Linked DNA regions of Homo sapiens: all the other regions are linked to region 1. The links are contacts of gene promoters, found by promoter capture Hi-C in human tissues and cell types (Jung and others, 2019). All regions are on one chromosome and are shown on one strand. Each heading gives the region's core, a stretch centred on a gene start or on the middle of the fragment in contact. The rest is flanking DNA. Distances are from core to core; before and after follow the strand shown. Region 1 holds the start of PDGFRA (platelet derived growth factor receptor alpha). Region 2 has its middle 120 kb from the start of USP46. Region 3 overlaps USP46 (ubiquitin specific peptidase 46). Region 4 overlaps SCFD2 (sec1 family domain containing 2). Region 5 overlaps SCFD2 (sec1 family domain containing 2). Region 6 overlaps SCFD2 (sec1 family domain containing 2).

Region 1 (3,604 bases), core at 577-3,076:
GTTACCATTTGTGGGCGGAGAGCGCTGGGGCCCTGCGGACGGAAGACCCTGGCTTGACCGGACTAACAGTGTCGCCGAAGCAAAGCAGCCCCTCTGGGTAGGCTGTCTGTCTCGCCTCCTACCCTCTGGGGCAACTAGCCTAAAAACCCGGTTCTCAACTTAACAGCATGTGGCCCAGCACCCGCTTTTGCCTTTTATTCCGCACTCTGATTTTTGGGGGGATCGTTTGTTCCCGCTCATTTTCTACAAACATTACGGTATCCTGTTAGCATTCCGAACAAGGGGCTGTTCATATATTTGCCTTCAATGATTTCCTGAAGGGACATGTGGAAGTAATAGCGAGCGGTGCAGTCACCCAAGCTGAAGATGCACGAGAGCGGGTCGCGTAGAAGAACTGCGGCAATGGGACCCCCAGCGCAGCCCCAGGCGCCCTGTTTTCGAGGCTGACATCCCAAGATCCTGTCCTGGTTAGGCACAGCACCGCGCCCGTTGGAGTACTTCTCTGTGACTCTCCCCTGTCCACTGCACTGTGTCCACCCTCCTGGTGAAGGAGGAGACGGCTGTTGGACATGCCAGTCCCAACCTGGCCACTTTGGCCATTTTCAGAGTGCGTGTGTTGGGGTGGGGTTGAGGGAGAAGGATGAAGGATGACCCCCAACCCCAACAGGAGAATTCAAAAATCAGAGAGCGATGAAGGTGAACGCGCTCCCCTCCCCCGCTGTCGCTGGGAAGCCCCACTCTGCCCAGGTCTGGTTCCTGGAGCATCAGCGCCCCCTTTCCCTCGCCGGCAGGATCGTTTCCTCCCGACACTGGCCTCTCGCCTTGGGCGCAGGGTTTGGGGCTCAGCTGTCAATTCCAAGGAATTCGTAGGGTTCGACCCACGCGGCGGGAGGGAACGGAGGGAGAATCAAAAGGCATCCTCCCCCACGACGCGGAGGCGGTGGTACGATTCCTCAAACGCCCAAGCTTGAGCTTTTTTTGTATGCGAGATAGAAGCCAGGGCAACCTCGCCCAGATAACCCCGAAAACAAAGGCACGACCAGATAAGTGACTTCAAGGGAGTAAAGGTCGTTCTATCGGAGAACGTTCCAAACCTACACAGACCCTCTTTTCTTTGTACCGTATTTCAGACCACCCAGTCTTGTACACACACACACACCACACAAAACAAAAACCCATCATTGTCATATTGGACTCAACAGTTTGCCCAATCCTATTAAATAACTAGCAACTATATAGCCCTTCCCCTAAAAGACCCCTAGTTCAAAACGGCGCAACCGCTTGGAGATTTCTCCCGAGGGCCCTATTTCTCGTTGGGCCGAGTTTGTAGAAGGGACATTTCTTGATTCTAGATTTATATTCTCTCTGGGTATTAAATGCAATTTTGTATGTTCCTTTTCTTCTTTTCAAAGAGAATACAAAACTATAGCAGTCTAAGAAAATAACCCCAAAATGGGGAGGCAAACTCATTCTGGAAATGATGGGCTGTTTGTAGTTTCACAAAACCTCTTTCCCGGCAGAGCACCAACACCTCCCCCTTCCACCACCCCCCATCCCATCTGGTCTGCTTCTCCCCGCCCCCCAGTTGTTGTCGAAGTCTGGGGGTTGGGACTGGACCCCCTGATTGCGTAAGAGCAAAAAGCGAAGGCGCAATCTGGACACTGGGAGATTCGGAGCGCAGGGAGTTTGAGAGAAACTTTTATTTTGAAGAGACCAAGGTTGAGGGGGGGCTTATTTCCTGACAGCTATTTACTTAGAGCAAATGATTAGTTTTAGAAGGATGGACTATAACATTGAATCAATTACAAAACGCGGTTTTTGAGCCCATTACTGTTGGAGCTACAGGGAGAGAAACAGAGGAGGAGACTGCAAGAGATCATTGGAGGCCGTGGGCACGCTCTTTACTCCATGTGTGGGACATTCATTGCGGAATAACATCGGAGGAGAAGGTAAGGGAAAAGAAAAAATGATTTTTTGTTTATAAGGGAAGTCCCTGATCAGACTCTGGGACTGGAGAAAGCGAAGTAACTTCAAACTTTGGGCGACAAGAAAAAAAAAAAGGAGCTGGATTCCAGTTGTGTGTCCAGAGAGTAATTTTTTTTTTTCGGAATAAACTTCACTTGGGGACGGGTGGGAGATAACCATAGAGTTAGAAAGTCTAGGTATTTTTTTTAAACACACATTTTCCAGACCTATTTTTAAAAACAATGTTTTTCTAACAACCCTATGGCCTCCCAAAGAAATTGTTTAGGCTTACATTTTTGAGGTTTCTTTTGGGAGTGGGGGTGGTGTTCGTGAATACTGGGCCGAACACCAAGGAACTGGGGGTGGAGGCAGAGGTGTTTGCCCTCTTCTTGGCAGTGGGTCCTGGAAGGCGACAGGTTTTAAATGAGTGTTTTCATTCCTCGCCTGCGGTTTGGCGGGACAGCGCTGCAGCCCATGGTGTGGAGCGCGGCTGGGGGACCAGGGGGAGGTGGGGAGAGGGGAGCGTGGAGGGGAGCGTGGAGGGGGGCGCGCGAAGGGGTTGCGGGGCGCAGGAGGCGGGCTGGGCTCGGCTGGAGACCGGACCTCGGTGTTGGCCTACAGCACAGGGAGCCGGCCGAATGCGCGTGATTACTGGACGGCGCTGCTCTGGGAGAGAGTCGGGGCCAGATTTGGCGCGGCGGTGAGGCGGCTGCGGGACAAGCAGAGGCGCGCGGGCGTGGGCAAGGGTTTGGGGCGCTCTGGAGCGGTTTGTTGGGTCAGTGAGGTGCCAGGGAGAGCGGGTGCCTGCCGGGCAGTGTGCTCGGGTTGCACGCCCTAGCGCGGGGGCGACAGCGGCGGCGCGGGCGGGCGGTCTGGAATAATGACAAACACATTTGGCCCTGAGTGAAGAAGTCGTCGTCGCCTCGCATTCCAGCAACTGGGATTTGAGGAATTTCGAACCGCACACCAAGGGGCCCTCATTGTGCTCCGTGGCCCCCGCCCCCGCCTGTCTTCCCGCGCCCCCTCCTCGGTGGAATCATTTCTGCATTGCCCGGGGGCTCTGCTTTCGCTCAGTTCTGGCCGCAGGCAGGAAGAGAGGAAAGGTCTCCAGGAAGGTGCCGAACTTCTTGTGAGGAAGTTAGGGACGACTTGGAACTGGGGAAACTTGTTTGCAGGTAAGACAGAAAGGTGGGAGGTAAACCATATTCTCCCTCCGGGCACCCGAGCCCTGGACACCCCCTACCCGGCACCCTTCTCCGCGCGGGGGTGCGTGGCACTTGCCGTCTGAGCTCGCCCAGCGCTGCTCGGTCCTCTCTAGTTGGCCTTTTTTCCATTCCTCTCCCTGCCGGCTTCAGAGCCGTCTGTGCGTACTTCTCCTTCCTCTGCTGTCTACCCCCATGGAAACCAGATTTACACACGAAATTAACTCCGCCCGGCTGCGCCCAGGGAGCGGGCGGCGTCCATTTGGCATTGAATATGTGGGATCAGCTGTTCTATTCCGGGAGGGTGTCGGCCAGGTCGGAGCGACGAGTGTGGCCCAACCCGAGTACGTTGCCAGAGGGAGCCAGGAGCCTGGGCCGGGCCAGGTGTGCGAGAGCTGCCGATGGCCTGGCCTCGCGTCTTGGTCGGGAAGGACTTG
Region 2 (3,689 bases), core at 533-3,032, 1.7 Mb before region 1:
AACATATGTGTATATATGTATATATACACACATATATAATTATATATTTTATATATAATTATATATAATAAATTATATATGTAAATTATATATATACAAATTATATGTGTGTGTGTGTGTATATATATATCAGCCATGGTTATCATCTGGGCCAGGAGATGAGCTAAAGTTGTGGACACCTGGTCCCCATCCCCAATGTGCTTCCTGAAGGCTGAACTAGAGTTCTGCTGCTCTTAGGCAATGTGTTATTTCTCTTTAGGCAATCTGTGGAAGCCAAATCATTAGTTGCTGTTTGCTTGGTAACCATCTTGGCAAATAAGATTAAAAGTCAGGATGTCTGTTGGCTCACTGAGTCCTCCTAATGGGCCAGTCTCAGGCTGTCTTACTCTGAAGTATCCTCCACTCCACAAAATCACAGATGAATGCTTCTGGGAAAAGTGGCATCTTGTTTACTTTCACAGAAACTGCCATGTATGCATCAAACCCATTTCCACTTCTGCCTGGGCACACACCTAACCTTGTCTCCCAGCTTCCTTTGCAGTTAGGCCACGTGACATGCATTAGCCAATGCCATTGGCATGGAAGTGATGTGCACCCTTCCTGGTCTTGCTGATAAAGTTACGCCACAGGCAACCCTCCGTGCTCTACAGGGACTTTGGAAGCCACATGCTGAAGACATGAGAGCCACAGGCGAAAGAAATCTGGGTCCTCACATATTACTTGGGTGAGGCATCCACTCATCAGCAATGCCCGTTGTGAACTTTATGTGAGGAAAAACAAACTTCTATCACATCTGAGCCATTACACATTCTTTAGTTTGTTTGTTACAAGTTCTAGGATTACCTTAACAAATACATCTGTCTCAATCATCATGAACCTATCATTCCCATAGCAGTGCCTGGTACACAATAAGAATTTATGTCTGTGGAAACTCTAGATTTTACTAGAAATCAGAGCCTGGTGTTTTCACAGACTAAGAGTAATCATTGACATGCAGGAGACAGACTCTGGAACTCTGCAGAAGAGTTTAGTTGTCTACATTTCTGAAACATGAGGATGCCACCAGGAGAGGAAATATAAGATATTTTTTCCCAATTTCAGTTCTCCTCAGATTTCATCAGTCTGATCATCCAGACTCAGAATTATCTGAAGTTATTTCATTCAGAGACAATAGAAACCAGGGCATTTAAGTATGCAGAGAGCAATTACATTCTGAGAAGAAACCTCTGAATAGCACAATCACTGGCAGCTATTTAAAGAGAATAGAAGATTGAGACTGCATAGGTGGGAAAAAGATCTTAGGTTTGACCTAAAGGGCTGAATAATAATCCTAAAGGACACTTATGGCCCCAGAGCTGGTGCTCTCTGGGGGTGTGAGGCCTGGACAGTTGGAGAACCGGCAGTAGTGACTAGAAAAGGATAGTATTTGGACAGATGCCTGAGGTTACGTTCCAAATTCCTTCCACCTCACCCCACTTCTCATTCCCCAAAACATTATTCTCAAGGGAGGAGTCACGGTATATTGAATTTACCACTGAGGCCATTAAGAGAGGTGTGTGTTGTTATACATCACCAGAAAACATTTCCTTGTTTCTCAAGGTCTTTTTTGATTAAAGAAGCAAAATCATACCAGCTCTTCCCAAACTCATCTTTCACTCTCCATTAAAGAGAAAAGCAAGACTATCAAGTAAGGCAAGCAGCAACCTACAAAATGCAATCTTGGACCACATGAGCAAGAAGATGAGCAATGGACAAGAGAATGGCATTGCAGGTGGGAGTTCGAGGTAGTATGTATGTCGGACAGAAAAAGCCTTGAAATCTACGACCCTCATTGACCCCTCACAAGCGGTTATACTCAAAGCACTTCATCAAGCTTCTGCTCCATAAGCGTAAACAGCCATGCCCTGCACCATGTGACCCCACCCCAGGCTATAACTAACTGAACCAGAAGTGGACACCCAACCCAAAGGCAGCCAATTTAGAATTGCCCAATAGCCTGTGAGATAGCCTGGTAAGAAATCTCTGTTATACACAAATAATGATGATAAAGGCATCAAATTATCTTTCTCTGGAATAGAAAATGAAGATGAAATAAAAATATGATATAAAATGAAAATATGGGGAAATTCTCAGGAATACGAAGAAGAGATAGAGGGAGAGAATCCATCTTCGTTAGCAAGAGAGAAAGAAAAAAAAACAGAGAAAAGGCAGGCAAGATTCAAAAGAATAATGAAAGGTCAAGAGAAAGCAGAAATTATTAAATTAGAGTAAGCAGAAGTTGTGAGGAGGCAGAAGTCCAAATATACGTTAAATAGAGCACGAGGGAGATGTTTCGAGCAGGTTCAAGATAAAGGCAAAAAGGAGGTAGGCCCCATAATGCTATACCTCTTGAAGATCAACAAATTCCAGCTTCTGGTATAAGCAGGGAGACAGGACAGAGGGCCAGCAACAAGATTATCAGTGTCCAGGACATTTAACTGGACACTGAATGACCTTCTGCATGGGATGATTTATTCTGGGCTCTCTGATGCTCTGCTGTCCTGTGGGTCTTACTCTTCTTTGGCTGTTATGTGGCTTTCCCTCGATTCCCAGGAGGCCTGGCAACAAGCTTGAGATTCCTGTTTTCCTTAGTCCCACAAATATGCTAGCAAACTGTCCCCTACTTTTACTCGAAGTAACACAGGTAAGTGTATTCCTTGCTACCAAGCAGTGGGGTGTGTTATTTGTACAGTGTGGATGTATGTGTTTGTCTAGTGTGTTGTATGCTGGGAGGATGAGATGAGAGGCCAAACGCAGAGGACAGAATCACCTTGATAAGTTTGGGAGAACAGGGGGGTGATAAGGTAGGGAAGTCTGGGAATGGGAGTAATAGGAGTGAGCAAACTCATTTGGGCTTCTTCACATATGTCTGGCACCTGGTCTGTGGCTTCCTGTGTCCATCAGTTTCCCTATCTCTTAAATATACTGCATATCAAGAGAAAAGGGTACACGTCTCTTCTATGGACATTCCTAATCTATTGTTATGTTTATTCAGAAAGTCATCTCATCTTCCTCTAAAGAATGTGTTAGGGAGGAGCCAAGATGGCCGAATAGGAACAGCTCCGGTCTACAGCTCCCAGCGTGAGCGACGCAGAAGACGGGTGATTTCTGCATTTCCATCTGAGGTACCAGCCTCATCTCACTAGGGAGTGCCAGACAGTGGGCGCAGGCCAGTGTGTGTGTGCACCGTGCGCGAGCCGAAGCAGGGCGAGGCATTGCCTCACCTGGGAAGCGCAAGGGGTCAGGGAGTTCCCTTTCCGAGTCAAAGAAAGGGGTGACGGACACACCTGGAAAATCGGGTCACTCCCACCCGAATATTGCGCTTTTCAGACAGGCTTAAGAAACGGCGCACCACGAGACTATATCCCACACCTGGCTCAGAGGGTCCTACGCCCACGGAATCTCGCTGATTGCTAGCACAGCAGTCTGAGATCAAACTGCAAGGCGGCAACGAGGCTGGGGGAGGGGCGCCCGCCATTGCCCAGGCTTGATTAGGTAAACAAAGCAGCTGGGAAGCTCCAACTGGGTGGAGCCCACCACAGCTCAAGGAGGCCTGCCTGCCTCTGTAGGCTCCACCTCTGGGGGCAGGGCACAGACAAACAAAAAGACAGCAGTAACCTCTGCAGACTTAAGTGTCCCTGTCTGACAGC
Region 3 (3,983 bases), core at 214-2,713, 1.6 Mb before region 1:
ATAGACTGTGTACAGTTACTGTTCTAGGGATTTTACTTGTATTTCATTCATTTTCATCTTCATAATAACTCTATGAGGCAGACACTGCTACTGGCCTTATTTTAAAGATAAGAAAACTGAGAGGGCAGGGAACTATTCAAGTTCACACAGCTACTAAGTACTGGAATTGGGTTTGAACTTGAACAATCTGGCTCCAGTGTGTGTGCCCCTAACTACTACATAATATTGACTCTCAGGGAGGCAGAGTCTCCTTGGAACCACAGAACTGAAAGAACTGAAGAAACCGAAGAGGTCACAAAGTTGTTGGGAGAACCCCCTTCCTTCTGAAGCACCCCTTGAAATTTTCTAGAATGAGAACACACAAGTCCTTTTCCATGGAATCTCTACAGAGTACTGGCAACTTGTTTAGAGAAAACATAAAATTGAGGTTGGGAGTCAGAGGAGACATGAGATGTAGTTAAGAGGAAAGCAGATTTTTTTTCAAAATCACTTCAAAGACTGTGGACCTTTTATCTAGCCAAAGAATAAAAACAAATAATGTCAACTTTTAAAATGCTAAAAGAGAAAACCGTACCAAAAAGCAAATTTGAGTTCTAGAGAGTAAACCATTCTACACCTAATAATGAAATAATGTGCAATCTTTACTAAATACTTGGATAGATACTGACAATAATATAACAAAAACAATGGAAAAGGGAGAGAAAGAAAGTGCATATGCAGAACAAAATGTGTTAATATATTAATGTAGCTTATCTCTTGGTAACATAGCTTATCTCTTGGATTATTGCAGGGAGAGGGTAGGGGAGGAGAAAACTGGCGATGAATTAAATAGAGGAACGAAATTATTTATTTTAATCCAAAGAAAGCTGCAGAATATCTGTTATGCCTTTAAAAGATACGAACCCACAGACCAGCCTGGAGCACCCTCCATCTCCTCCTCTGGCTGCCTCTCCTCATCATTTGGTTTCAATGTCACTTCTTCAAAGCTACCTTCCCTGACCCTTCCCACTCATAGAATCCTGTCTGTTCCTCCACAGCCCTTAGCACAATCTGTAACATCATAATTGTAATTATTTAACAACTGTCTTCCCACTAGACCACAGGTCTGCAAATTACAGCCTATGGGCAGAATATGACCCACCAATTGTTGTCATAAATAAAGTTTTACTGCAACACAGCCATGATCATTCATTTACTTATGGCAACTACTTTCACAATATTAACAGCAGAATTGCGTAGCTGTGATAGAGACACTACGGCCCACAAAGTCTAAAGCATTTACTGTCCAGACATTTACAGAAAAGCTTACCAACCCCTGTACTATGCCATAAGCTTTATAAGGGCAGCAATTAGGTCTGATTCATTTGCCAGCACCTAGTAGAATGTCTGGTTGTATAGAAGGCACTTGATAAATTTGCTCACTGAATAAACTTGGGAAGCAGGGGAAAAGTTAGCAGTAGGTGCCACTCATTCAGAGAACTTCACATCTACATATTCATTTAATCTTGCCTGCCACCCCAAGGCAGATTACTCTTAATATCCCCATTCTACACATGAAAAAAATGTAGGGAACCTGCCCAAGCTCACTCAGCCAATAAGAGCAGATCTGGGATTCAAACCTATGTAAATTCGGTTCCTGAGTCTGAGCTCTGGACCACAAGCCAGGAGAGGAGATATTTTCATTCACATTTTCAGTAATTCTTTAGCTACAGATGTAAGGCTTGGGCAGCCAGCCAGGAACTGTCTCTGAGTATGTCCACTTTGGCTGCTGGCTGTCACACATTACCTAACCACCGGGCACTTACCCAGAGTGGCTACGAATGCCTGACCTGTTTAGTTAGCAACATATCACCACGGAGCCCCTGTCCCACTGAGCAATACTGAATGTGACTCTCTCTGCCAAATAAATCACTGATGGGGACTCATTATCCCCATGTCATAGCTGAAGGAAATGAGGTTAACTAACTTGCCAAGGTCAAGTGTTAGCATGAGGCAGAGGTAAGTGGTGAACCTATGATCTTAACACCATTATTCCACAACCCTGGCTCCTGTTTCAACAGCCCACTCCTCTCCAGGCTTCAACAGGGAAAGCAATCATGAACAAGAAGGCAGTCAAGGGGCATTTTCATCCCACAGCATGACAACATGTCACTTCTATGTCTTATGTCAGAAGTCCCCAACCCCCAGGTACAGTTCTGTGACCTGTTAGGAACCAAGCGGCACAGCAGGTGAGCAGGCATTACCACCTGAGCTCTACCTCCGGTCAGATCAGCAATAGCATTAGATTCTCATAGGAGAGTGAACTCTATTGTGAACTGCGCATCAGAGGGATCTAGGTTGCATACTCCTTCTGAGAGTCTAATGCCTGATAATCTGAGGTGGAACGTTCATCCCAAAACCATCCCCAGCTCTGCCCAGGTTTGTGGAAAAATTGTCTTCCACAAAACCTGTCCCTGGTGCCAAAAAGTTTGGGGACCGCTATCTTACATGATATTGAATTAAAAAAAAAAAAAAAAAAAAACCTCTGAAAAAAACCTTGGCCAGGCGCAGTGGCTCACGCCTGTAATCCCAGCACTTTGAGAGGCCGAGGTGGGTGGATCACGCGGTCAGGAGTTTGAGACCAGCCTAACCAATATGGTGACACCCCGTCTCTACTAAAAATACAAAAAATTAGCCGGGCGTGGTGGCACGCGCCTGTAAGCCAAGCTACTAAGGAGGCTGAGGCAGGAGAATTGCTTGAACCCAGGAGGTGGAGGTTGCAGTGAGCTGACATCGTGCCATTGCACTCCAGCCTGGGTGACAGAGAGGGACTCCATCTCAAAACAACAACAACAAAAATTAGCCGGACATGGTGGCATGCACCTATAATCCCATGTACTCGGGAGGCTGAGGCAGGAGAATAGCTTGAACCCGGGAGGCAGAAGTTGCAGTGAGCCGAGATCGCGCCACTGCACTCCAGCCTGTGAGGTGAAGACAGACTCTATCTCAAAAAAAAAAAAAAAAAAAGAAAACCTCAACATGACTTCATTTAATAATTGTACACAGAAGCCAAAACATCTGCCACTGAAGAAAGCTGACCTGGGATACTTGACTACATGACCATCCCAAGTCATTCTAGCAAGGAGCATTAAAGAACATCTAGAAAGAAGCTGTGGCTGGCAAAACAATTCTCCATATATTTAGAGATAACAAAATGAAGTCCTCATGCAAAACTAAAACTTCAAGTCAAAAGCAGAACAAAGAATCTTGAGACCATGCCTGTTTTCTAGCTGCAGGTGGAAGACAAGGAAATAGCCACTTATGTCACTGAACTCAGTGAGCTAGAAGCAAGAACCTCATTTCCAATTCAATCCTTCTACAAAGCCACCAAGATGCTGCCTGAATTATCATGTCCCCTAAGCTCCTACTTTACCCACAAATACACTTCCCATCTGTTCCCAGAAAGGCAGCAGAGGAGGCTGGGGTCCTTGCAAAATCCTAGGTCAAAGAGGCCTTGATATGGTTTGGCTCTGTGTCCCCACCCAAATCTCATCTAGAATTGTAATTCCCACAATTCTAGGGGCCTGGTGGGAGGTGATTGGATCATTGGGGCGGTCTTTCCCCTCGCTGTTCTCATGATAGTGAGTGAGTTCTCACAAGATCGGGTTGTTTGAAAGTGTGTGGCACTTTCCCTTTCTCTCTTGCTCTCTCCTGCTCCACCATGGTAAGATGTGCCTGCTTTCCCTACACCTTCTGCCATGATTTTAAGTTTCCTGAAGCCTCCCAGTCATGCTTCCTGTTAAGCCTTTGGAACTGTGAGTCAATTAAACCTCTTTTCTTCATAAATTACCCAGTCTCAGGTAGTTCTTTATAGCACTGTGAGAATGGACTAATATAGGCCTGCTCTGTAAATTTTATTAATAGGGTGATTTCATCCTCCCATCTTCTCATCCAAGCTCAAGGTCTTCATCAGTGAAAATCACAACACCTGCATTCCCACCTTA
Region 4 (3,855 bases), core at 1,110-3,609, 1.1 Mb before region 1:
GTAAATGTAATATGGCACCCTGGATGGAATCCTAGAACAGAATAAGGATATTAGGTAGAAACTAAGGAAATCTTTAAAAAGTCCACACTTTAGTTAATAATACTGTATTGTTACTTGTAAATGTACCATACTAACGTAAGATGTAAATAATAAGAAAAACTGGATACAGGTTATATGGAAACTCTGTATTAGCTTTGAATTATTCTGTACATCTAAAACCATTCTAAAAAACAAAGTTTATTTAAACTAAAAACAAATCCATGTCAGCTGAACAGCTTGTGCTAATCATTACTGCAGAATATCATCACAAAACACAGATGACCTGACGTTTCCTCACAGTTAGTTCTCCACAGCTCATGGGGTCATACAGCGCAGCCTAATTAAGAGATTTGGTAGTAAAAAGAGAATTAGAGAGTGGCTGGCAAGATGGCTGAATAGGAACAGCTCCGGTCTGCAGGTCCCAGTGAGATCAACACAAAAGGAAGGTGATTTCTGCATTTCCAAGTGAGGTACCTGCCTCATGTCATTGGGAGTGGTCAGACAATGGGTGCAGCTCACAAAGGGCGAGCTGAAGTGGGGTGGGGCATTGCCTTACCCCAGAAGTGCAAGCGGTCGGGGAACTCCCTCCTCTAGCCAAGGAAGCCATGAGGGACTGTGCCATGAGGAATGGTGCACTCCGGCCCAGATACTATGCTTTTCCCAGATTCTTCACAACCTGCAGACCAGGAGATTCACTTCCGTGCCTACACCACCAGTGCCCTGGGTTTCAAGCACAAAACTGCGCGGCCGTTTGGGCAGACACCGAGCTAGCTTTAGGAGTTTTTTTTCATACCCCAGTGGCACCTGGAATACCACCGAGACAGAGCCGTTCACTCCCCTGGAAAGGGGGCTGAAGCCAGGGAGCCAAGTGGTCTAGCTCAGCAGATCCCACCCCCATGGAGCCCAGCATGCTAGGATCCACTGGCTTGAAATTCTCACTGACAGCACAGCAGTCTGAAGTCCACCTGGGACCCTCGACCTTGGTCGGGGGAGGGGTGTTTACCATTTCTGACACTTGAAAAGGTGGTTTTCCCCTAACAGTGTAAACAAAGCCACAGGGAAGTTCAAACAAGATGGAGCCCACTGCAGCTCCGCAAAGCCGCAGTAGTCAGATTGCCTCTCTAGATTCCTCCTCTTTGGGCAGGGCATGTCTGAAAGTAAGGCAGCAGCCCCAGTCAGGGGCTTATAGATAAAACTCCCATCTCCCTGGGACAGTACACCTGGGGGAAGGAGCGGCTGTGGGCGCAGCTTCAGCAGACTTAAATGTCCCTGCCTGCAGGCTCTGAAGAGAGCAGCAGAAGTCCTAACACAGTGCTCGTGCTCTGCTAAGGGACAGACTGCCTCCTCAATTGGGTCCCTGACCCCCCCACCCCCCGCCTCCTGACTGGGAGACACTTCCCAGCAGGGGTTGACAGACACCTCACACAGGAGAGCTCTGGCTGGCATCTGGTGGGTGCCCCTCTGGGACGAAGCTTCCAGAGGAAGGAACAGGCAGTAATCTTTGCTGTTCTGCAGGCTCCACTGGTGATACCCAGTCAAACAGGGTCTGGAGTGGACCCAGTCAAACAGGGTCTGGAGTGGACCTGCAAACACTAGCAGACCTGCAGCAGAGGGGCCTGACTGTTTAGAAGGAAAACAAATAAACAGAAAGGAATAGCATCAACATCAACAAAAAGGATGTCCACACAAAAACCCGATCTGAAGGTCACCAACATCAAAGACCAAAGGTAGATAAATCCATGAAGATGAGGAAAAACCAGCACAAAAAGGCTGAAAATTCCAAAAACCAGGACACCTCTTCTCCTCCAAACGGTCACAACTGCTTGCCAGCAAGGGAACAAAAATGGACGGAGTATGAGTTTGACGAATTGCCAGAAGTAGGCTTCAGAAGGTGGGTAATAAGAAACTCCTCTGAGTTAAAGGAGCATGTTCTAACCCAATGCAAGGAAGCCAAGAACCTTGAAAAAAGGTTAGAGGAATTGATAACTAGAATAACCGTTTAGAGAAGAACATAAATGATCTGATGGAGCTGAAAAACACAGAGAACTTCGTGAAGCATACACAAGTATCAATAGCCGAATGATCAAGAGGAAGAAAGGATATCAGAGATTGAAGATCAACTTAATGAAATAAACAGTGAAGAAAAGATTAGAGAAAAGAGAATGAAAACAAACAAACAAAGCCTCCAAGGAATAGGGGACTATGTGAAAAGACCAAACCTACATTTGATTGTACCTGAAAGTGTACCTGAAAGTGATGGAGAGAATGAAACCAAGTTGGAAAACACTGTTCAGGATATTATCCAGGAGAACTTCCCCAACCTAGCAAGACAGGCCAACATTCAAATTCAGAAAATACACAGAACACCACAAAGATACCCCTCGAGAAGAGCAACCCCAAGACATGTAATCATCAGATTCACCAAAATTGAAACGAAGGAAAAAATGTTATGGGCAGCCAGAGAGAAAGGTCGGGTTACCCACAAAGGGAAGCCCATCAGACTAACAGCAGATATCTTGGCAGACACCCTAAAAGCCAGAAGAGAGTGGGGGCCAATATTCAACATTCTTAAAGAAAAGAATTTTCAACCCAGAATTTCATATTCAGCCAAACTAAGCTTCATAAGCACAGGAGAAATAAAATCCTTTACAAACAAGCAAATGCTGAGAGATTTTGTCACCACCAGGCCTGCCTTACAAGAACTCCTGAAGGAAGCACTAAACATGGAAAGGAAAAACCGGTACTATCCACTGCAAAAACATACCAAATTGTAAACACCATTGACACTATGAAGAAACTGCATCCAGTAATGGGCAAAATAACCAGCTAGCATCATAATGACAGGATTAAATTCACACATAACGATATTAACCTTAAACATAAATGGGCCAAATGCCCCAAATAAAATACACAGACTGGCAAATTGGATAAAGAGTCAAGACCCATTGGTGTGCTGTATTCAGGAGATCTACCTCATGTGCAAAGACACTCACAGGCTCAAAATAAAGAGATGGAGGGATATTTAACAAACAAATGGAAAGCAAAAAAAAGCAGGGGTTGTGATCCTAGTCCCCGATTAAACAGACTTTAAACCAACAAAGATCAAAAAAGAAAAGAAGGGCATTACATAGTGGTAAAGGGATCAATGCAACAAGAAGAGCTAACTATCCTAAATATATATGCACCCAATACAGAAGCACCCAGATTCATAAAATAAGTTCTTACAGATCTGCAAAGAGACTTAGATGCCCACACAATCATAGTGGAAGACTTTAACACCCCACTGTCAATATTAGACAGATGAATGAGACAGAAAATTAACAAGAATATTCAGGACTTGAACTCAGTTCTGGATCAAGTGGACCTAACTGACATCTACAGAATTCTCCACCCCAAATCAACAGAATATACCTTCTTCACAGCACCACATCGCACTTATTCTAAAATTGATCACATAATTGGAAGTAAAATACTCAGCAAATGCAAAAGAACGGAAATCAGAACAACAGTCTTTCAGACCACAGTGCAATCAAACTAGAACTCAGGATTAAGAAACTCACTCAAAACCCCACAACTACATGAAAGCTGAACAACCTGCTCCTGAATGACTACTGGGTAAATAATGAAATTAAGGCAGAAATAAATAAGTTCTTTGAAATCAATGAGAACAAAGACACAATGTACCAGAATCAACGGGACACAACTAAAGCAGTGTTTAGAGTGAAATTTATAGCACTATATGCCCACAGGAGAAAGTAGGAAAGATGTAAAGTTGACATCCTAACATCACCATTAAAAGAACTAGAGAAGCAAGAG
Region 5 (3,671 bases), core at 885-3,384, 1.3 Mb before region 1:
TCCAGATCCCACTCCTCTGACCCCTCTAGAGATTTTATATGCTCGATGTAACGCAGTTGGGACACCTTCTCCTTAAAGTGACTAGATGGTGTCTACTTTCTGCATCTGAATTGTGATTGACACCTTTTCCTAACGGGTTAATGGGTAAAGATTAAAATAAGAGGTGCCTCTAGTCCTAGCAAGGGAAGCAGGAGTGGCTCTGAGACTTAGTGCATGCGCATCACAGCAGGACGGAGGACCACTGGGAGGGAAGGTGGGGCCAGTGGGGGCCCAAGGCCTAGATCCTAATATGCAGCATAGGTCAGACCGGGAACAGGAACCCAGGGCCAGGCCAGCTAGCACTCTCCCACGTGACCAGGGAGCCCAGGACATCTCAATCAGATTCTGTCTGGAGACAGCATGGAGCTGGGTAGAAAGCATAGATTTCTTCTGGAGTCACAGGGCTGAGGACCAAATTGGTAGATGAGATGAACAGAATATTGTTTAGCCAAGGACTATTTTTCTAAACCAGACACGCAGCTGGACTCTGAGTCTAGTCTGGACACTTGTACTTTCCTATGCATGCATATTTTGTGTCCAAATAAATCTCCTGATCTGTAATAAATATATATGTATTGTACTTAAGATGTACCTAACAAATATTTACTAAGCATCCACTATGTGACAGATGCCACTCTAGGTACTGGGGATACGGCAGTGAACAAAACCCATAAAAATCCCTGTTGTCACAAGGCTTACATCTGTAATTTAAAAATATTTTAAATTTGAAAAACACTGAAAAACCCAGAGGTAAAAATTACCCATAATCCCATTAAAAAGTGTCACATGTATAGAATATGTAAAAATAAAGCAAGAAATCAGTGTTTCTCCTTATCCATCCAATCCTACCCATCCACCATAAGGTAACCATTATAAATTTTTCCTAAATTTTAAAGACATTAAGTATACATACCTATGAAATATTTATTTTATTCTATTTTTACAAAAATAGAATAATGCTTTACAGAATGACCTACATGTCCCCTCACTGCCACCCAATTGATCATGGACCTCTGTTTCAGTTGAGCTCCCCAAGAAGCGGACCTTGGGCCAAGGATTCAAACACACACCCTGCTCAGCATATCTAGGTCTATTCCATTCATTGTAATGGTTGCACAGCATTTCACCATGTGTCTGTATCATTATTTATTTAATCCCCCCAATGTACACACATTACCCTACCTCCACTCCACTTCCCACTCACTGACACTTAGGATTGTTGGGAGTGTGCTGATGTTATTGACTATTGTAAGGGGGGACATATGCGACAAAGGGAAACTCCATTTTCCAAAGGCCATGGCTGCAAGACAGGGTTCTGAGGGCTGGAGAAATGACAGTGTTGGCAGCAGGGAGATAAGGTCTAAGAAACTTATTGTCCTTATCACGTGCAAGATATATAGCTAATACATGTTTACGTGAAGTTGGCCAAATCAGTCACCCGGATGACATAAAATGGGAAAGACCTCATTCATTTAGTGGTTTATTTTCTCTTTGCCAACTACACCAGCCACTTGCTTCTTGACATTTTTGGTCTCAATGTCATCATATATCACTAGTTCTAGCATGTCTTTTGGAACTAGTCCACATTATAGTATTTAAGATTGCTGATTTTTTAAAATGACAAAACTACGTATGAATACCTGAGTGATTTTATCTGTATTTTGTCGCCGTGGCATTCTCAGATCTTTGAGTAAAGGATGAAAATCTTTATGTTTCTAAGAAGAGTGACAGTTTCTAAGGTCTTCAGTATCTTGGTAGGTGATTTCAGATGATCATCAGCACCACCAATCAACACTTCTAGAATCTCTATGAGAACCATATTATAGTCAGGGAGGAGGTTTTGGGCTGGCAGCAAAGATCTGGCATCTGCCCCTGGCCATCTGCATGCCTGTGGCACGTCACTTGGCCTTCCCGGATCTTGGAATAATAATGCCTCCCTGGCATAACTTGTGGCAATCAAAGGAAAAATCCAATGTAGAAGTGCTCTTCAGGTATCAGCTCCCAAACAAATACAGGATACTGGAGGAAGAATCTGGATTGTGCTAGCTGCAGTGGGTAACATTAGCTCAAGTCTCCCTTAAAGAGTCAGCACCCTGAAGCTGAACTCCTCCCCACTAACAGCACATTCAGCTCTCCAAAAAGCCTTAACAAATAGAGTTTATTTTACTAAAGGTTTTATGGAGAAATAAATAAGATTCCCCACAGTTAAACTTAGTCATCTTTTCCAACAGAAACATTTGTTCTTCCCTGAGAGCTCATCTTTGGCCACCAGGAACCTTAGTTCTGTCTCCTACCTTGTCCAACAAAGACTCCCCAGCCTCAGTGGCTCTAACCTTTCTTTATTCCTTAAGCTTCCCTTTGGGTCTTTCTATGTACTTTCCCCCTCTGAGTTTTTACACAGCAATTATACCTTAATCTTGATACCATCTCTTTACTCAATGGTCAAAAAACATTCTTCTTAGGTCCTCCTGCCCTCCTTTGAAAGCAGTGGAGGAATTTTAAATAACACATATTTTCATCACAAACTTTTTCCCTTGTCGTAACATTATCAGGTGTTTTCATTATTCTGCTCATTCAAAATGTTTACGGACTGGTTAGATCCAGAAACTTGGGAATCCTCTAAGGCCAGCCCCTCATTTGGTACCTGTAGTCATTGGCTCCCAGAGGAGAGAAGGGACTTGCAGAAGGCTATAGAATCAGTCTGCGACAAACCCACAGTTAGAAAGCCATGGCTGACTCCCAACTCAGTGCTCATCCCACCATATCAAGCCTGGGGCATAAATGAATTGAGAGGCTTTCAGATTCCGTGGGACCCAAAACTCTGAACTAAAAGAGAACTTGGAGATCATCTAGAACAAACCTTTGGTTTTAGGAAGGTTAAAAGGGAACCTTTTCTTCTATAGACTCTGAATCCTAGAAGTACAACAGATTAGAAGGTTACTTTAAAACGTATATACTTGCCTGGTGGGTATGATTTCCAGGAACATATACAGACTTAAACTGTTTCAGGAGACTCCGAGCTCCAGCAATATCCCGAAGTGAAGTAAAGAGTTCATCCACGGCAATTTTGGATTTGTGAAATGTCAGATTAATTGAAGAGTCCCAGTCTGAAAAAATCCAGAGATATTTTCTTGAGTGAGTAAATCTTTAAGTTTTCATCATGACAGCTTGAGCTCGATGTAATGTAGTTGGGAGGTTTTTTTTTTTCTTTATTATTATTATTATTATTGTTATTTTTTACCCTGTTTTCCTCTGGCTGTTTACCAACTGGGCTGTTTCAATCGTCCATGAGCAATGAAGCAAATTGAGTATAAATGCCTTTGACAGAAGTGGAACTCAAAATTGCCTGGGATTTCAGCCACTGGCTTCCATCCCTAGACTGCAGACATTTCACAGAAAGCAAGCTCCTAGGGCCCATAATCCTCGGAACACGACTTTGGGAAAATATGAGGAGACACAAAGGAAAATACGAGAGACTGTTATGATCAAACTCACTTGCTTGAATCCCACCAATAGTTTCCATAAAGCAGGACAGCAAGAATGAGAAAGATCCTGTCTAATGCACTAACAAAGCACGTGGCACATTTCAGAGGGCTGCCATTCAAAGCTGATCAAACACAGGGGGACTTAAC
Region 6 (3,776 bases), core at 664-3,163, 1.2 Mb before region 1:
TCCTGCCTCAGCCTCCCAAGTAGCTGGGATTACAGGCACGCGCCACCACATCCAGCTAATTTTCTTTTGTATTTTTAGTAGAGACGGGGTTTTGCCATATTGGCCAGCGTGGTCTCAAACTCCTGACCTCAGGTGATCCACCTGCATTGGTCTCCCAAAGTGCTGGGATTACAGGAGGGAGCCACTGTGCCCGACCAAAGCTATGTGTTTTTGTGATGTGTGTAGTAATTATTTTCCCAAGTTTTGACTTCTTTTCATATTTCAGTAATAAATATTTACTGAATGCCTACTATATTCCAAAAATTGTTCTATAACTTAAAGATCATAGATTTAAAAAACACAAAGTTCCTGCTCCCCTGCCATTCTCAAAAGTGTGAAATCCCAATTCTCACTGAGCACAGTGGCTGATAACCTATAATCCCAGCACTTTGAGAGGCTGAGGCAGGAGGACTGCTTGAAGCCAGGAGTTCAAAACCAGCTTGGGCAACATAGTGAGACCCAGACTCTACAAAAAATTAAAAAATTAGGCAGGCTTAGTGGCATGTGCCGTAGTCCCCAGCTACTTGAGAGGCTGAGGTGGGAGGATCACTTGAGTGCATGAGGTCGAGGTGGCAGTGAGCCATGATCACACCACTGCACTCCAGCCTGGACAACAGAGTGAGACCCTGTCTCTAAAACAAAAAACAAACAAACAAAAAGCCCCACAATTATCTTCCAAGTATTTTCTTTGCAGGTTGTGTCTTCTTGACTCCTTAACTATCTGTTCCTCATGATATCTTCCTCTCACCTGTACCACGCACACTAATGCACACACATGTACACACATACACTTCTATCAGGTGACTGACATGCATGTTACACCGTCTTACGATTTTAAAATTCAGAATGACTTTACTCTTTTCCAATTTTTGGCTCTGTGGTTCCATTTAGGTTGTTTCTATCCAAAGAAAGCCAGGAATGGCATATTTATTTCTTCCCCCAAACTCCAAGGTGTGCTTTGCTAGTTTGTTTTCCTTAGAGAAATGAGGTTTAAACTGTCTCAGAAATGGGCATCTCCAGTAGGTAACCTTCTGGACTTGAACTGATAATATTTTGCAGGGGTGTCTAATTCTTCTGAAAATGTGACAGCTCTTCGACCTGACAGCCCTTCTGCCCTGACTGGTCACATGTGAGGGAATGTGTGTACTGTCTGGTGACTGCTAAATGTGGCCCAGGCATTCACTTACCCAGTGCACAAGACCCAGCAGCATCACCAGCAAGGTAGCTTGAAAAATCTTTTAATTAAATATTCTAGGCTACGCGCAGTTGCTCAGACCTGTAATCCCAGCACTTTAGGAGGCCGAAGTGGGTGGGTCACCTGAGGTCAGGAGTTCAAGACCAGCCTAGTCAACATGGCGAAATCCTGTCTCTACTAAAAATACGAAAATTAGCTCAGTGTGGTGGTGTGTGCCTGTAGTCCCAGCTACTTGGGAGGCTGAGGCATGAGAACCACTTGAACCTGGAGGCAGAGAATGTAGTGAACCGAGATCGTGCCACTGCACCCCAGCCTAGGTGACAGAGCAAGACTCTGTCTCAAAATGAATAAATAAGTACATACATACATACACACAGACATACTCTAAAACTTAGAGAGTCACTTTAACCTTTGCAGTATTGTCTTGACCTGAAAAAATGAAGATACTAGGTGTAGTGGCTCATGCCTGTAATCCCAGCATTTTGGGAGGCTGAGGCAGGAAGATCCCTTGAGCCCAGGAGTTTGAGAACAGCCTAGGAAACATAGGGAGACCCTGTCTCTACAGAAAATAAAAATAAAAAATTAGCCATGGGTGGTGGTGCATATCTGTGGTCCCAGCTACTAAGTAGGTTGAAGTGGACAGATCGCTCGAGCCTGAAAGGTCAGGGCTGCAGGGAGCTGTGTATCTCAAATGTTTTATTTCGATGGCCCTCCAGGCCCTGGGTCATCTGGCTCCTGCCTCTCTTCTCATTGGGCTTCAGCCATGCTGCCTGCATTCCTCCAACTCCCAGTGCCCCTTCTTGCTTCCTCTAAAGCTGCTCACATCCTCTGCCTCCCCATTTCCTGTCATCTGTCAGGTGGAAGCTTAGGGAGGCCTTCCCTGGACTCCCACACACCACTACACTCCAGCCTGGGTGACTGAGCGAGACCTAGTCTCAAATAAATAAATAAATAAATAATAAAAATAAAGCATCAAAACATTAATCTTAGGAATCTTTTTCAGCTTGTGGAGTAAATCAGATGAACAGTGTGTGAGAATTGGAAAACGTGTCCCAAAGAATAAGCACAACAGAATGGCGTACCTTCTTTCAACCCAGTTCAGTTTAACACAAGAGACTTCACACGGTTAATTCCATGTGGAAAGGACATTTTCTTGCTGGAAACAAATTTTAATCTTTGTGAGTCTGGAATTCACTAGGAAGAACACAAGATATGATACCAAGAATGTCTGCCCAGCCTTGCCATTAGAAGTCTTGTGACATGGAACTCTGTCTGGCACACTCATAACCTTAATGCAAGAGGATGGTGAAGAGGAATGTTTAGTGACCTGAGTGTAGATTATTGGTACTAATAGTAACAATCACAGTAACAACAAACAGTGGTATAGTGCATACCATGTGCTATTCACTGTGCTATGCACTCTTCATAACCTATATTAACTTATTTAGTCGTCACAACAGACCTGAGGGTCAGTCTACAGAGGTTAAATCACTTGTGCAAGCTTACATAGCCGAAGTAGGATTCAAACCCAGGCAGTCTGGGTTTCTGGTGCTCTAAACCACCATGTTTCACTGCCATTAGCTATCGTCTCCTCCTTGTTTTGTTCCCAAATGACAGAATAATGTTAAAGAGTGAGCAGAAAGGCAGCAGGGCATAGTGAATGGAAGGCATGCATCAGCTGGAATCATGAATCTTGCCTGGTTCAGCCTCCTGCACCAAGCTGCCTAATCTGAGTCTATCTCTTTAAAAAATTTCTGATAATGATAATGACTACCTTATGTCAGAAAATTAGATAAAATGCACAGACAAAATGCTCTCTCTCAGTGGAGGGGTTATAGGTCATTTTGTTGATGTTTTTGTTTTATTTGAGGTCATTTTAATTTCCTTCTTTTGGGTTTTCAGTATTTTAAAAAATTCTTTGATTGGCATGTATTCATTCATAGATTCAGCATTCAGCAAATGTTTATTTACTCCTGTTACAGGCTATAGATGTTAAACAGGAAAAAATAAAACACAATAGAAAATATTTTGATATGTGTACATGAGTCCGCAAACACTCGAATGTCACATGCAAAGGTAGTCATATAATGGAGGTAAGGAATTTCTTTCTCTAAAATTCTATGTTTAATGTTGTTTCTGTGGCCACTTTTGAGATCAGCAAATAAAAAGAAGTCTTAAAAACACCTTTAAGTACTTAAGAGAAGCAAGATCTTACCAGGATATCTTATTCCCCCAATAATGGTGGACAAATGAGGTGTTGATTAGACATTTTCAAAATGGCACAAAAGGCAGTCATGAGCACTGCTTTCTAACAGCTCCAGATTAAGTGGCAGCAAACCTCACCAGCAACAGTCTGGCTAAATAGCTGTCGTGATTAAACGAATCAAGATAGGTTGTAGAGGAGGCCATGAGGAATACTTCAAGATGACAAAGCTCAGAATTGGATTAGATTATTCTAGTTCAATAAAACAGATAACATCTCTATGTCTGGAACTGAAAATTACAGCCATCCCCTTGAAGCTGGAGAGTTTTGCACACAGTG

What was found. The method cuts DNA at HindIII sites, captures the fragments that hold promoters and counts their contacts. A contact is called where the count stands out against the background at its distance.
Region 2: a fragment that was not itself captured here is called in contact with the fragment with the promoter of PDGFRA in region 1 in 1 of the 25 tissues and cell types used here (lymphoblastoid cells).
Region 3: a contact is called between a fragment that was not itself captured here and the fragment with the promoter of PDGFRA in region 1, in 1 of the 25 tissues and cell types used here (lymphoblastoid cells).
Region 4: a fragment that was not itself captured here is called in contact with the fragment with the promoter of PDGFRA in region 1 in 1 of the 25 tissues and cell types used here (aorta).
Region 5: a fragment that was not itself captured here is called in contact with the fragment with the promoter of PDGFRA in region 1 in 1 of the 25 tissues and cell types used here (lymphoblastoid cells).
Region 6: a contact is called between a fragment that was not itself captured here and the fragment with the promoter of PDGFRA in region 1, in 1 of the 25 tissues and cell types used here (aorta).

Annotation. Positions count from the first base shown.
Region 1 is chr4:54,227,467-54,231,070 of GRCh38, forward strand. PDGFRA (platelet derived growth factor receptor alpha) reads left to right here and starts at 1,827. Exons shown (of 23, transcript NM_006206.6): 1 at 1,827-1,949. RefSeq lists an enhancer at 300-1,125. The HindIII fragment of the contact is 9,376 bases long and covers 1-3,604 here.
Region 2 is chr4:52,535,404-52,539,092 of GRCh38, forward strand. No RefSeq gene overlaps it. Among named protein-coding and RNA genes, the nearest start is that of USP46, 120 kb to the right of the region's middle. The HindIII fragment of the contact is 3,875 bases long and covers 1-3,689 here.
Region 3 is chr4:52,642,238-52,646,220 of GRCh38, forward strand. The region is part of intron 1 of USP46 (ubiquitin specific peptidase 46); the gene reads right to left. Among named protein-coding and RNA genes, the nearest start is that of USP46, 15 kb to the right of the region's middle. The HindIII fragment of the contact is 3,806 bases long and covers 1-3,366 here.
Region 4 is chr4:53,104,473-53,108,327 of GRCh38, forward strand. The region is part of intron 5 of SCFD2 (sec1 family domain containing 2); the gene reads right to left. Among named protein-coding and RNA genes, the nearest start is that of SCFD2-AS1, 180 kb to the left of the region's middle. The HindIII fragment of the contact is 4,966 bases long and covers 1-3,855 here.
Region 5 is chr4:52,917,725-52,921,395 of GRCh38, forward strand. It overlaps SCFD2 (sec1 family domain containing 2), which reads right to left. Exons shown (of 9, transcript NM_152540.4): 6 at 3,001-3,146. Among named protein-coding and RNA genes, the nearest start is that of SCFD2-AS1, 7.8 kb to the right of the region's middle. The HindIII fragment of the contact is 3,372 bases long and covers 449-3,671 here.
Region 6 is chr4:53,046,776-53,050,551 of GRCh38, forward strand. The region is part of intron 5 of SCFD2 (sec1 family domain containing 2); the gene reads right to left. LOC124900701 (a long non-coding RNA gene) reads left to right here. Exons shown (of 3, transcript XR_007058116.1): 2 at 1,099-1,260; 3 at 2,238-2,323. Among named protein-coding and RNA genes, the nearest start is that of SCFD2-AS1, 120 kb to the left of the region's middle. The HindIII fragment of the contact is 3,051 bases long and covers 389-3,439 here.